Linked DNA regions of Homo sapiens: region 2 is linked to region 1. Evidence: promoter capture Hi-C in human tissues and cell types (Jung and others, 2019). All regions are on one chromosome and are shown on one strand. The core of a region is centred on a gene start or on the middle of the fragment in contact, and the rest is flanking DNA. Distances in the headings are between cores, read along the strand shown.

Evidence for each region. The method cuts DNA at HindIII sites, captures the fragments that hold promoters and counts their contacts. A contact is called where the count stands out against the background at its distance.
Region 2: a fragment that was not itself captured here is called in contact with the fragment with the promoter of COL3A1 in region 1 in 2 of the 25 tissues and cell types used here (heart left ventricle and stomach).

What each region holds. Positions count from the first base shown.
Region 1 is chr2:188,972,375-188,978,298 of GRCh38, reverse strand. COL3A1 (collagen type III alpha 1 chain) reads right to left here and starts at 3,926. Exons shown (of 51, transcript NM_000090.4): 1 at 3,731-3,926. The coding sequence starts at 3,809. The region is part of intron 1 of LOC105373791 (a long non-coding RNA gene); the gene reads left to right. MIR1245A (microRNA 1245a) reads right to left here and starts at 207; the gene lies at 138-207. It overlaps MIR1245B (microRNA 1245b), which reads left to right and starts at 138; the gene lies at 138-206. The HindIII fragment of the contact is 6,513 bases long and covers 1,906-5,924 here.
Region 2 is chr2:187,852,458-187,858,032 of GRCh38, reverse strand. No RefSeq gene overlaps it. Among named protein-coding and RNA genes, the nearest start is that of TFPI, 300 kb to the right of the region's middle. The HindIII fragment of the contact is 3,926 bases long and covers 388-4,313 here.

The DNA of each region.
Region 1 (5,924 bases), core at 2,677-5,176:
ATCAATCCAGGAATCTGAAGTAGTTAAGAGGCATTTAATCACAGTCTTTCCTTCTTTCCCAGAATTGTTCCAGTGGATTTGCTTTCTTTTCTTGTAATGCTGAAATGTTTAATTCCAGAATTTAATAAAAATACCTTTTTATATGTAGGCCTTTAGATCACTTAAAGAGTATTCAACATCAGATGATCTAAAGGCCTATACATAAATAGGTAGTTTTGAAAATCCAAATTTTTCAAGGCTCTGTTATTACCTGAGCATTTTTCTTTCCCTAGAAAAAAAGCTCAGGTAAGTAAATACAAGGTATCATGGATGAAAAACACAAAGTGTTATAATACTTTATTTACTCACACAGAACTGGTGATAATTTCTTTTAAAATGATAAGATCCTGAGCTTCTGGGGTTTAAAAAAATTAACGTACTACTCTCTATAAAATTGAATATTAAACAGAAAAATACCTATTCTTTTTTCACCTTTAGAAATGCATTATTAGTTCATGTACTTTCTAGGACGATATATAATTTTTTTAGTATCTCCTTTCAATGACAAATAGTTACAAAATTAAGAAAATTCAAATATCTGATTTTAATGTGTATTCTATAATTATCTAAGACTGAACAGAATATTGGTCCTAGCCTTGACTCCGTCATTTTCTAGTTTTGTAATCTCAAATAAAGCACTGATCCATGTTAGGTGACTGACACTGAGATATGTGAGCAACTATGCATTCTCTCCCTTTAAAAGTGCAATTGTTCCTAAATGTATGTAACCTTTTCCTGTTAGTTCAGTGTGTTTAATTGTAGGGACAAACACAAACCAGAAAACTTGAATGTTACCTGAGCAAGTTACAAATTCCCTCTTAAAGCATAATGAAAAAAATATACTCTCATGACGTCTAATAAGAAACTGATTCTCTGAGTCCATTTACAGTTTTAAAATTCTAAAACAACTAGAGGCCTACAGTTTATTTTACTGGAATTATCACTGTAGCAAAATATAGAAACTCAAACATTAGTACACATTTAATTAAAATAAAGTTTCTGTTTCTGCCCTAATGGAGCAGTATTACTTAGTAACAGCTGTCTATAATCTATCTAACAATTAAGCAGTGAATAAAATACTTATGTCAAATAAGGACTACATCAGAGACATGAAAAATGTATTTAAACAATAGTCATATGTAGAATTTTTAAGTGGCCGTAACATTTAAGCTAATTTCCAAAAAGACTCTGAATATTGTTACCATTGTGTTTTCGTGTCAGTATATGTGTTTGCAATATTTATCCGTAACATACTAATTTCCTTAGGAGAGCAGTGTTAACATTTAAAATTCACGCATATGAATTTTTTAAAGCTCATTATAAACTACCAAAGCCAGCTACATAACATTAATATTGGCATTCGTTATGTAAATGGTAACCTGGCTTGTCAGCCACTAGGTGACGCATCTTTGTACTTAAAACTTGGCATGTTTATAATCTACAGGAAATATAAAACAGACTATGTTTCTCCATTGGTGGATTAAAACACATGAATTAAATACAATGTTCACAAATTTGTAAGACGACCAAAATTCTTTTTGAGGACTTGTTTGTATCCAGAAAATGCCTGTGAGTGAACTAGAAGTGAGTGTTCATTAGAGCTGTGCCGTCTCTGAAGTTATGAGGGCATATATAAGAAACCCCACCCCAGAACTTTATGACAGCTCTCAGTGTGCTGTATATTCAGATACCTCCTGTAACTTTTCCAAAGCTTATCTAATAGCAGAATTTCCTTGTAAAACCCACAGGGAACATAAGATGTACTGTCTTAAGTCACTTCAACTTTACTTTTACTCATGACAAAAAAAATAGGCTGAACAGTTCTCTTTCAACTCTTTTTGAGCTTAAGAACACACAAACACATATCAGCAAAATTTTATACTTATTGATTATTTTTTGCATCTAAAGAGAAAGAGGGAAATAAACAGAACTTAATGTGATGTCAAGGTACTGTAAGTGGCAAACACCCCCCCACTAAAGTTGGATTGGGAAGAAAAATAGCCACAGTGCTTATAAAAAGCTTGCAACCACGAGGCAACTACAAATATGTTGCAATTTTTTGAGCTAAAACCCCTAAGTTTGTAGTCTTTTCAATAAATGGTTGGTGGGGGATAGTAGTCATTTGGTATCCTAAAAAAGGACTGTGAGTTGTAGCATCTCCTGGGAAGAGCAGGATAGGGAGGAAAAGGGGAGAGGAATGAGAAAGGAAGAAGGATTGAGAGTTCAGGGGAAAGAAAGGGTGAGGAGGCAAGGAGAGAGAGAACTAAAAAAAAGAAATGGAGGCATAAGGAGGCCACATGGGGAGTAGGGAGGGAGTAACAGGCAGGGAAGACAGAGGAGGAGAGAGGAGTAGATATGGGCTTGCCTAGGAAGGGGTGGGGTGATGAGTGAAGAGAAGTCTAAAGGAGCCAAAAGGGGTGGAGAGAGATAAGGAGGAGGGCAAAGCGAAGGAGAGGAGGGGTAAGGAGGAGAGGAAATTAAGGGAACAAGGAAAATGGGTGTTTCTTTTCTTTTGTGTCCATGGGCTGAATATAACTGAAGACATTTCATTGTATATCTACCCCTCCCCTCATACACACATTTACATGTATTAGCTATGAGGACAACAAATACATTTGATATTACAAACAAAAACCAAATTTTCATGCAGTGTCCTTTGCAAAATCTATATGTTTAAATGTAACCATGTTTAGTTATGTGCAATAAAAATTGTCTAATAATTTCTCCTAGCTATCTTTACATTTAGCACTTAAATATTTATTTCTATGGAAGTTTGTATTCCAATTTGTTCAGCATTTTCATGACTATGGTAAATAAAAGAATATTTTCACATAAATAATGAGACAAATGTGTTTTTAGGGGAAATTAGAATATGAAAAACATTACATGCAATTATTAGAAAATATAGCAAAACAGCTTTCTGAAGTCAAACAGTACTAGTATCTTTACCTTGTTTGCAGCAAAGTCAAACCTCCTGTTGAAACATTTTAAAAAATATTTTCTTCATTAATGCGAATGTGGTTAAAACGTAGAATATGTGGAAAATATTAGTCCCTTAATATCAAGCTACTAGAAAAGATGAATTAATCAATCATTCTTGAAACAAAATAAAAACAGGAATAATAAAATATTTTAGCAGTTTGATCCCTTTGAAGAATGTTTATAGGTATCTTGTAGCCATTTTACAGAAATATATTCAATGATTCTGATAATGCGTAGAATCTTCCTTTAGACTGTTCTTAATCCATGATATTTGAAAGGCATTCTTATTCAGAAAACAATGCTCAATATTCTAACCTTACAAAGAATCCAGCAGACAAAGAGGAACATAAAATTATTGCAAGAGACCAATAACTTCCAGACTGCCTGGGGAAGTATTCCAAGATGTTAACAATCCAGGAGGGAAAAATTTTAAAGCCATTTTTAAAAGTTTCCAGTGCCTTTAACATGAAAACAAGTTAGTACAAGAACATCTTATCTTAACCACAGAACTCTTAAAAACACACATAACGCGATTATTTTTCAAGTAATGTAAAAAGCACAGCCATGGTCAGTTCAACGTTTCACAATCTGGAGCTTATAGAGGAAATTATCTTGAATCAGGCAACTGATTTTCCCCTTTACACCCCTCTTTGTGAGGAGAAGAAAGACAAAAATCCCATAAAGTTTCTTGAAATCAGTACCTACTCACCTTCCTGTTGTGCCAAAATAATAGTGGGATGAAGCAGAGCGAGAAGTAGCCAGCTCCCCTTTTGCACAAAGCTCATCATGTCTAAATATCAGACATGAGACTCTTTGTGCAAAAAGGAGAAAAGAAAAGCAGTTCAAAGTAGCACCATCAAGTTGTTCCCTGCCCTTCAGCACCGGGCCCGTCATAAAACTCAGCCACTGAGATTCCTTTGCTTTGGCCTTAAATAGGAAAAAGTTTGGCTTCCCTCACTTTCCAGCCCCTTTCTGAAATATGAGAGCCGCACCCATCCCCTCAGCAGTAAAAGAAATGATAAATATTTCTTTTTCCCTTATAGAAGACACAACCCACAGTAAGAAAAAGAGCACATCTGGAGTTTGTATGCATCTGCTTATGTAAAAGTTTTTTTACATATTTCACTCTTACATATATGTTTGTATAACTTAGGAACGTATAGAAATGCTCTGCCTTGTTTTAATACATACAATGTAAATGCATACATTTTTATTTCCCCTTATGAAGTTAACAACTGCATAATTTTGAAAAACTGCTTGATGCCCATTTATCTAGTATGTCTAATTTACAGAACTGATCTTCCTAGAAGATTTTTATGTTGGGATTTTGCCAGAAGTAATCCTAACTCAATTTAAATAGGAGACTGTAAGAGACTCACGGAAAGAAATGCCACCGTATGCCCCTTCGACTCATCCACCCACCCTGGGTCCTAGAAGTTAAGTTTCAGGCAAATATCAAAAGACAAAGTATTTCAGCAATGTTTGAATGGCTTCCTAAAAGTTAGATACTTATCTATAGCTGTTTCCATTTCTCACAAATTTCTTTAGCAAGCCAGAGTGCTTTCTTGTGAGATTTCCAATTTTTATGCTGCCTGGGAAAGACAGAGCAGATTTTTCTAGAGAAAAATTCAGCCTTTTCATGACATAACTTTTTAGGAAACTGGAAGAGAAAGAGTTTATCACATAGAATAGCAAAAGAGTACCAGAGAAAGTGGTCATTTTTTCTGCATTACTCTAAAGATTAGTATAAATATTTCTAATTTAGACTTTTATGTGTATACTTTCCAGATCCTCATCCACAAAACTTTCCAATGTATTTCTGGATCTATCTAAGCAGTAATTTTTGTGTCATATTTGAAAGAGGGGCAAATACCATTTATAGGTCTTTGATAAATCTCTGCAGGAAAAATATGCTTGTCCACAGTATAAGGCTATATCTGGCAATGGAGATATCTCTTTACACCCTAATCATCAGTTCATAGTTAGTTCATCTATCTCTATAATCTACGGTGGACATTTCAATTCTAATCAAGGTCACTTGAACTAATTTTCTTCACCTTCACCTAAACATGTCCGTCTCTATGCCTGTGCACATAAAATTCTCCCCATTTCACACCAATTAATGGAAGTCACTTCCTTATGCCTCAATGCAAAACTTTCCTCCTTAAGTAAATTACCTCCTTTAAACTAATTTTCATCTTTCTCTTTCTTCTAATTTGTGTTACTAAATTTTCACTCAACTCATGTCATATGTATATTCCCAGGTGTACATGAATCCTGTAAGCATGGACAGTGGCAAACTTGCTTTCTTGTTTCTTGCATCTTTTTTTTTTTTTTTTTTGCGACGGGGTCGCCCTCTCTCGCCCAGGCTAGACTGCAGTGGCGCAATCTCGGCTCACGGCAAGCTCCGCCTCCCGGGTTCACGCCATTCTCCTGCCTCAGCCTCCCGAGTAGCTGGGACTACAGGCGCCCGCCACTACGCCTGGTTAATTTTTTGTATTTTTAGTAGAGACGGGGTTTCACCGTGTTAGTCAGGATGGTCTTGATGTCCTGACCTCGTGATCCGCCCGCCTCGGCCTCCCAAGCTTTCTTATATCTTCAGTCACAAGGACACAAACCAAGACATCTCAATGTAGATGACATCATTTGATGACAGGAAAGGAAAACTAGAACGAGACCAACCTCTTGTGTATCTTTATTTTAGATTGGAGAGTCACTGCTTGGGGGCGTGGGAGAAAAGTAACTGTTGAGAATGGTCATGAATATAAGCTTTTCTACTGGATCACAGTAGAGATGCTGGGGAAAGGCTGTTATATGCATCTTTCTGTCTTTCAGACATCTTTGTCCTGTACACAAAAAATATTTCCTGTGTTCAAACCAATTCAGAAACATAGTTTTTCTCA
Region 2 (5,575 bases), core at 1,101-3,600, 1.1 Mb after region 1:
TTCACAATCATAGCTCCAGAGCCAGTACATGTTAGGCACAGAGTAATTATTTGTTAGATAATTGAATAAAAATGAAGGACGGAAGAAAAATGTGAAACTGAAGACTACCCCCACAAAAAAGGCATAATGATATGTCAAACCATCTGTGTCCCACTCACTTCCTCTCCAGAATAAAAAGTAAAGTGATTTGGTTATCTGGGAAGTAGATTAGGAAGTGTAAGATTACGAGAAGTGCACATTTTCTTTAGAATATTAAATTTATATTAACTACTTACTAACCTTTGTTGACTGGCAAACAAGTAAAGGTTTTTGTACCATTTTAAGATCAATAAGTGTTCAGATGCTGTCAAAGCTTGGTGAAGTAGATTTACAGGTGTTTGGGTTACAAAGAGATAACACAATCAGTTTCCTTTGTCTCAAGCTTAAATTGCGGTCCAAGGATAGTCTCAAAGTTCACCTCCTTGAAGAAAAACAAAAGAGATTTCCTTACAAGCAAGGTTATGTAATATTTTCATCCACCAGATGGGATAAATGTTGTCACTTCATCTTTCTTACCATACCTTAGCGTTACAAAGTATGAACACATAACTCACTTCCATCTTTGGTTGTTATATTGATAAATGGAGAGTCATAGTGTTCAACACGGGAGCAAACTTGGTTTGGTGCACTTTCCAACCTTTTCTCTTTGTTTTATTAGGAAAACATTCTCTTTCTTTCACACTGGTAAAGATTCAAAGTACTTAACTGAAATATACTGAGTCTAATATGATTAAGCAGAAGTATATGGCAAAGCAAACATGCACACACACGCCAACACAAAACACAAAAACAAAAATATGTATTTTTCATTTCATTTTTCTCTTATTTCTGAGAATACATGTATTAGGCAATATTGCATTCTTTCATTTCTCCTTTATTCTCTTCTTCCCCTTAATTTTTCTGTCTTTTTGTATTTTAAATTATTTTCTTTTAGGTTATATATGATATTTCATGACAGAGAGGTGGTAGTAGGGACAGTTTGCAATATCAGAGCCAGTCAGAAGATTGCCTACCGATTTTTTGTGGGGAACAGACATGATAAGCCTCAGAGGTGATGCTGGTTACCTAAGTGGTGGCAACATGGAACCAACCTTCTTTCTCCCAAAGTCACAGCCATCTCTCTTATTTTCTGTCTTTCCTTAAATGCCACTCATCAATGAGATATTCTCTGGTCACTCTACATACAATATCAATCTCTCCATCCCCCAACTCTGTATTAGATTTATACACTTTTGTTTTCACCATGACTTTTAGAGTGATCTGAACTATACATATATTATATACTGATGAGTTTGTTTCCTGCTTTTCTCAGCTATAATATAAGCTCTAGGAGGGCAGAGACCTTGTGGTGTCTTTAGTTATATACTCAGGTATATAATGAACAGCTGTTTGAATGTAGTCATTAATTAATAAATATATGTTGACTTAATGAATAAATGTCCTTCTCTGAGGCTGAAAAGATTAGAAAAAGGTAAACTTACTAGAGACCTACAGTATTACCAAAAAAAAAAGTCAGTTGTAAGGACACAGAAATATAAAAATCTAAAAATTACAAATAGCTTTCACAATATTATCTTCTTATTCTAAGTTAATTTCAAATTTTGATTTCAAAAAAGCCAGACAGATTTTGAATATATTTGTACAATTAATATTGGAATAATTAAAATATGGCTAATTGCTATGGGGAATAATAAATACTACAGAAAGACATAGCCTTTGCCTTCAGTTAAGTATATGTATTTCAATTTTACTGTCATTCTACTACATGCTTAGCATTTCAAAACTTAAAAGTAGAGTTTATTTTATATATATATATATTTATTGTTATGATGATGATTATTTGAGACAAAGTCTGTCTCTGTTGCCCAGGCTGCTCTGCTCACTGCAACCTCCATCTCCTGTGTTCAAGCAATTCTCCTGCCTCAGACTCCCAAATAGCTGGGAATACAGGCACCTGCCACCACTTCTGGCTAATTTTTGTATTTTTAGTAGAGATGGAGTTTTGCCAGGCAGGCAGATCACGAGGTCGAGAGATGGAGACTATCCTGGCCAACATGATGAAACCCTATCTCTTCCAAAAATTGCAAAAATTAGCTGGGCATGGTGGTGCATGCCTGTAGTCCTAGCAACTCAAGAGGCTGAGGCAGTAGAGTCACTTGAACTCAGGAGGCGGAGGTTGCAGTGAGCCAAGATTGCGCCACTGCACTCTAGCTTGGCGACAGAGGAAGACTGTATCTCAAAAAAAAAAAAAAAAAAAAAAGAAGGTGATCTTAGGAAACTACAAAATTAGTAGCTGAACCAGAAGTAAGACTCTAACACTAATTTTTTTCTCTTTTTCAGGCTAAGTGGAATAAAAAGCTTAATGTTTAAAACATTAGTGTAATTTATGTCTAATGTAAACAATATTGTAAACATTAAGACTACAAAAATGGCAACATTTTAGCAGTTAATTTTTTTCAAGATAAATCTAATCCAATTCTAGAAATTTTAGGACTATAATGAACTTATTACTGCTTTTTCCTTAGAGCTATGTTTAACATTGTGTCATTGGTCAACGCTGCCTTTATTAAGAAGTCAAAGAATAATCATATATGATTATTCTTATTTACTTACTTCAGAGAACTTTAAGATAAAATTGCATTCTTTGGAATGGTAGAGACAATTTTCTTTTTTCATTTTTATTTTTATTTTTGAGAAATAAATAAATGCAAAGAAACAGTCAATGTTAGGTGTCTGACGTTTACTAACAGTAGGCCTTATTATTCAAAATTAATGCCAGAATATTTGTGATTCTATAGCAAAGGGATATTTTGAAAGATATTGTTGAAAAACAGAGTCAGTTTTTTTAAGTTCCTCTTAATGTCTCAACAGCCAGTCACAGCAAACTTAAACCTTAACTCAAAAGGTTGAGAGAACTCCAAGCATGACATAAGGAAAATCCCTTCTAGCCCTAAGAGTTTGCAGGATTGGAAAAACTGATAGAGATAAGGCACAGAGATAACCTCCCAAGTTCCAGCTTTCCCTTTTCTTGTGGAAGATTAGAGAAATCTACATTGTTATGAGAAATCCTGAGAATGTTGAAATGTTTTGCCTTGACATAACCTGGGAGAAGATGCAGGCCTCTAGGAGAAGTCTAAGGACAATGGCAGATCATTTTTTAAGTGATGATGTGTATTAACAACAACCCTATAAGGTATAGGTAGCATTATTTTGCAAATAAAGTAATGGTGAACAGTGACTTAGAGCGGCTTCCCCAAGATAATACATATAGTCTTCTGGAGTTGGGACTTCAAACTGGAGGCCATTCTCTAACCATAAAAATACACAGGCTTTCCAGAGGAAGTGTGATGAAGCTTCTCTTAGGTGAGTAGCATTAGATTATCAAAATGGTAATGCATTTAGGTGACATTTCAGAACTGAAATAGATATAAACCAATTTACCAACTAAAAGAGTAGAAAAGGGTAGAAAAGGATGGAGGAATTACTGTGATACGGAGTTCCAATGTAATCTTGCTTCATCATGCTAAGGTTATTGCTCTAGTACCATAGTGTCTTTTCAGTTATGTTCTAGATTTCGTACATCTAAGTTGAAGAATGTATGTTGTAGGAGTTGATCACATGACCTCATTACAGTGGGTTGCTAAAAGTCATTAAAGAATGGCTTGCAGCCGGCTGTGGTGGCTCACGCCTGTAATCCCAGGACTTTGGGAGACTGAGGCTGGCAGATCACAAGGTCAGGAGATCAAGACCAGCCTGGCCAATATGGTGAAACCCCGTGTCTACTAAAAATACAAAAATTAGTTGGGCATGGTGGCGGGCGCCTGTAATCCCAGCTACTTGGGAGGCAGAGGCAGGAGAATTGCTTGAACCCAGGAGGTAGAGGTTGCAGTGAGCCAAGATCGTGCCACTGCACTCCAGCCTGGGTGACAGAGTGACACTCTGTTTCAAAAAAAAAAAAAAAAAAGAATGGCTTGCAAAACCTGGAAACAATAGGACTAAAGGCAGAATGCCATATACATGACCCCCTCATAGATAAAACCCGATAAACTCTAAAGTGTTTTTTTCCAGTTCTGACTGCAGATTATAAATATTAGGGCTGTTTTTAAAAAATATGTATGCCTAACACCAAAAACACAATCCATGAAAGAAAGAACTGATAAGCTGGACTTCATTAAAATTAAAAATTTATAGTCTGCCAAAGGCACTGTCAAGAGAATGAAAAGACAACCCACACAGGGAGAATATATTTGCAAAAGGCTTATCTGATAAGGACTGTTATCCAAAATATACAAAGAACTCTGAAACTCAACAAAAAGCAAACAACTCACTTAAATGTGTGCCAAAATCTTTAATAGACACCTCACCAAATAATGTATGCAAGTGACAAAAAGGCATATGAAATGATGTTCCACATCGAAACAACAATGAGACATAACTACACCTTTATTAGAATGGCCAAAATCCAAAACATGACAACACAAATCCTGGCAAGGATGTAGATTAACCAGCATTTGTATTCATTGCTGGTGGGAATGCAAAATAATGCAGCTACTTAGGAAAGCAGTTTGGCAATTTCTTATGAAACTAAACATATTTTTACCATATGATCCAGCAATTACACTCCTTTGTATTTACACAAAGAAGTTGAAATCTCATGTCCACACAAAATCTTGCACATGAATGTTGATAGCAACTTATTTATAATTGCCAAAACTTGGAAGCAACCAAGATGTCCTTCAATAGGCGAGTTGACAAACTGTGTAACATCCAAACAATGAAATTTTATTCAGCATTTTGGAAAGAGCTATCATGCCGTGAAAAGACATAGAAGAGACTTAAATGCATATTAGTAAGTGAGAGAAGCCAACCCGAAAAGACTTATACGATGTGATTCCACTTGTATAACATTTTGGAAAAGAAGAAATATGAAGATGGTAAAATGATCAGTGGTTGTCAGGGTTTAGGAAGGAGGAAAGAATGAATAGGCAGAGAACAGAGGATTGTTAGGGCAGTGAAAATTTTCTGTAATGGTGGTGGATACATGCCATAATGCATTTGTCCAAACCCATACAATGTCAGTGCTAAGAGTGAGCCCTCATTTAAACCATGGACTTTGGGTGATAATGATGTGTCAATGCAAGTTCATCAAATTCTAAGTGTATTACTCTGGTGGAGGCTGCTGATAATGGGTGAAGCTTTGCATGTGTTGGGAGAGAGGGTATATGGGAAGTCTCTATACCTTCATCTCAACTTTGCCATGCACCCAAAACTTCTTTAAATAAAGTCCTTAAAAAATATCCAGACCCCACAGTGGACAAACTGATCAGAATATCCGAGGATGGATCCTAGCTGTTGGTATTTTTAGGTGTCCTCTGGCAACTCTAATGTAGAGTCAGGGTTGTACATTGGAAACAGGGTGGCACGTCTTTTGACTTCTACTTTGTTTTGAGAATGCCGGTGTGATTTTCCTCCATGGAATATGAGGTTGGGTAGAGCAGTACATTTGTTTTTCAAATGTAACATGTCCTTATATGCT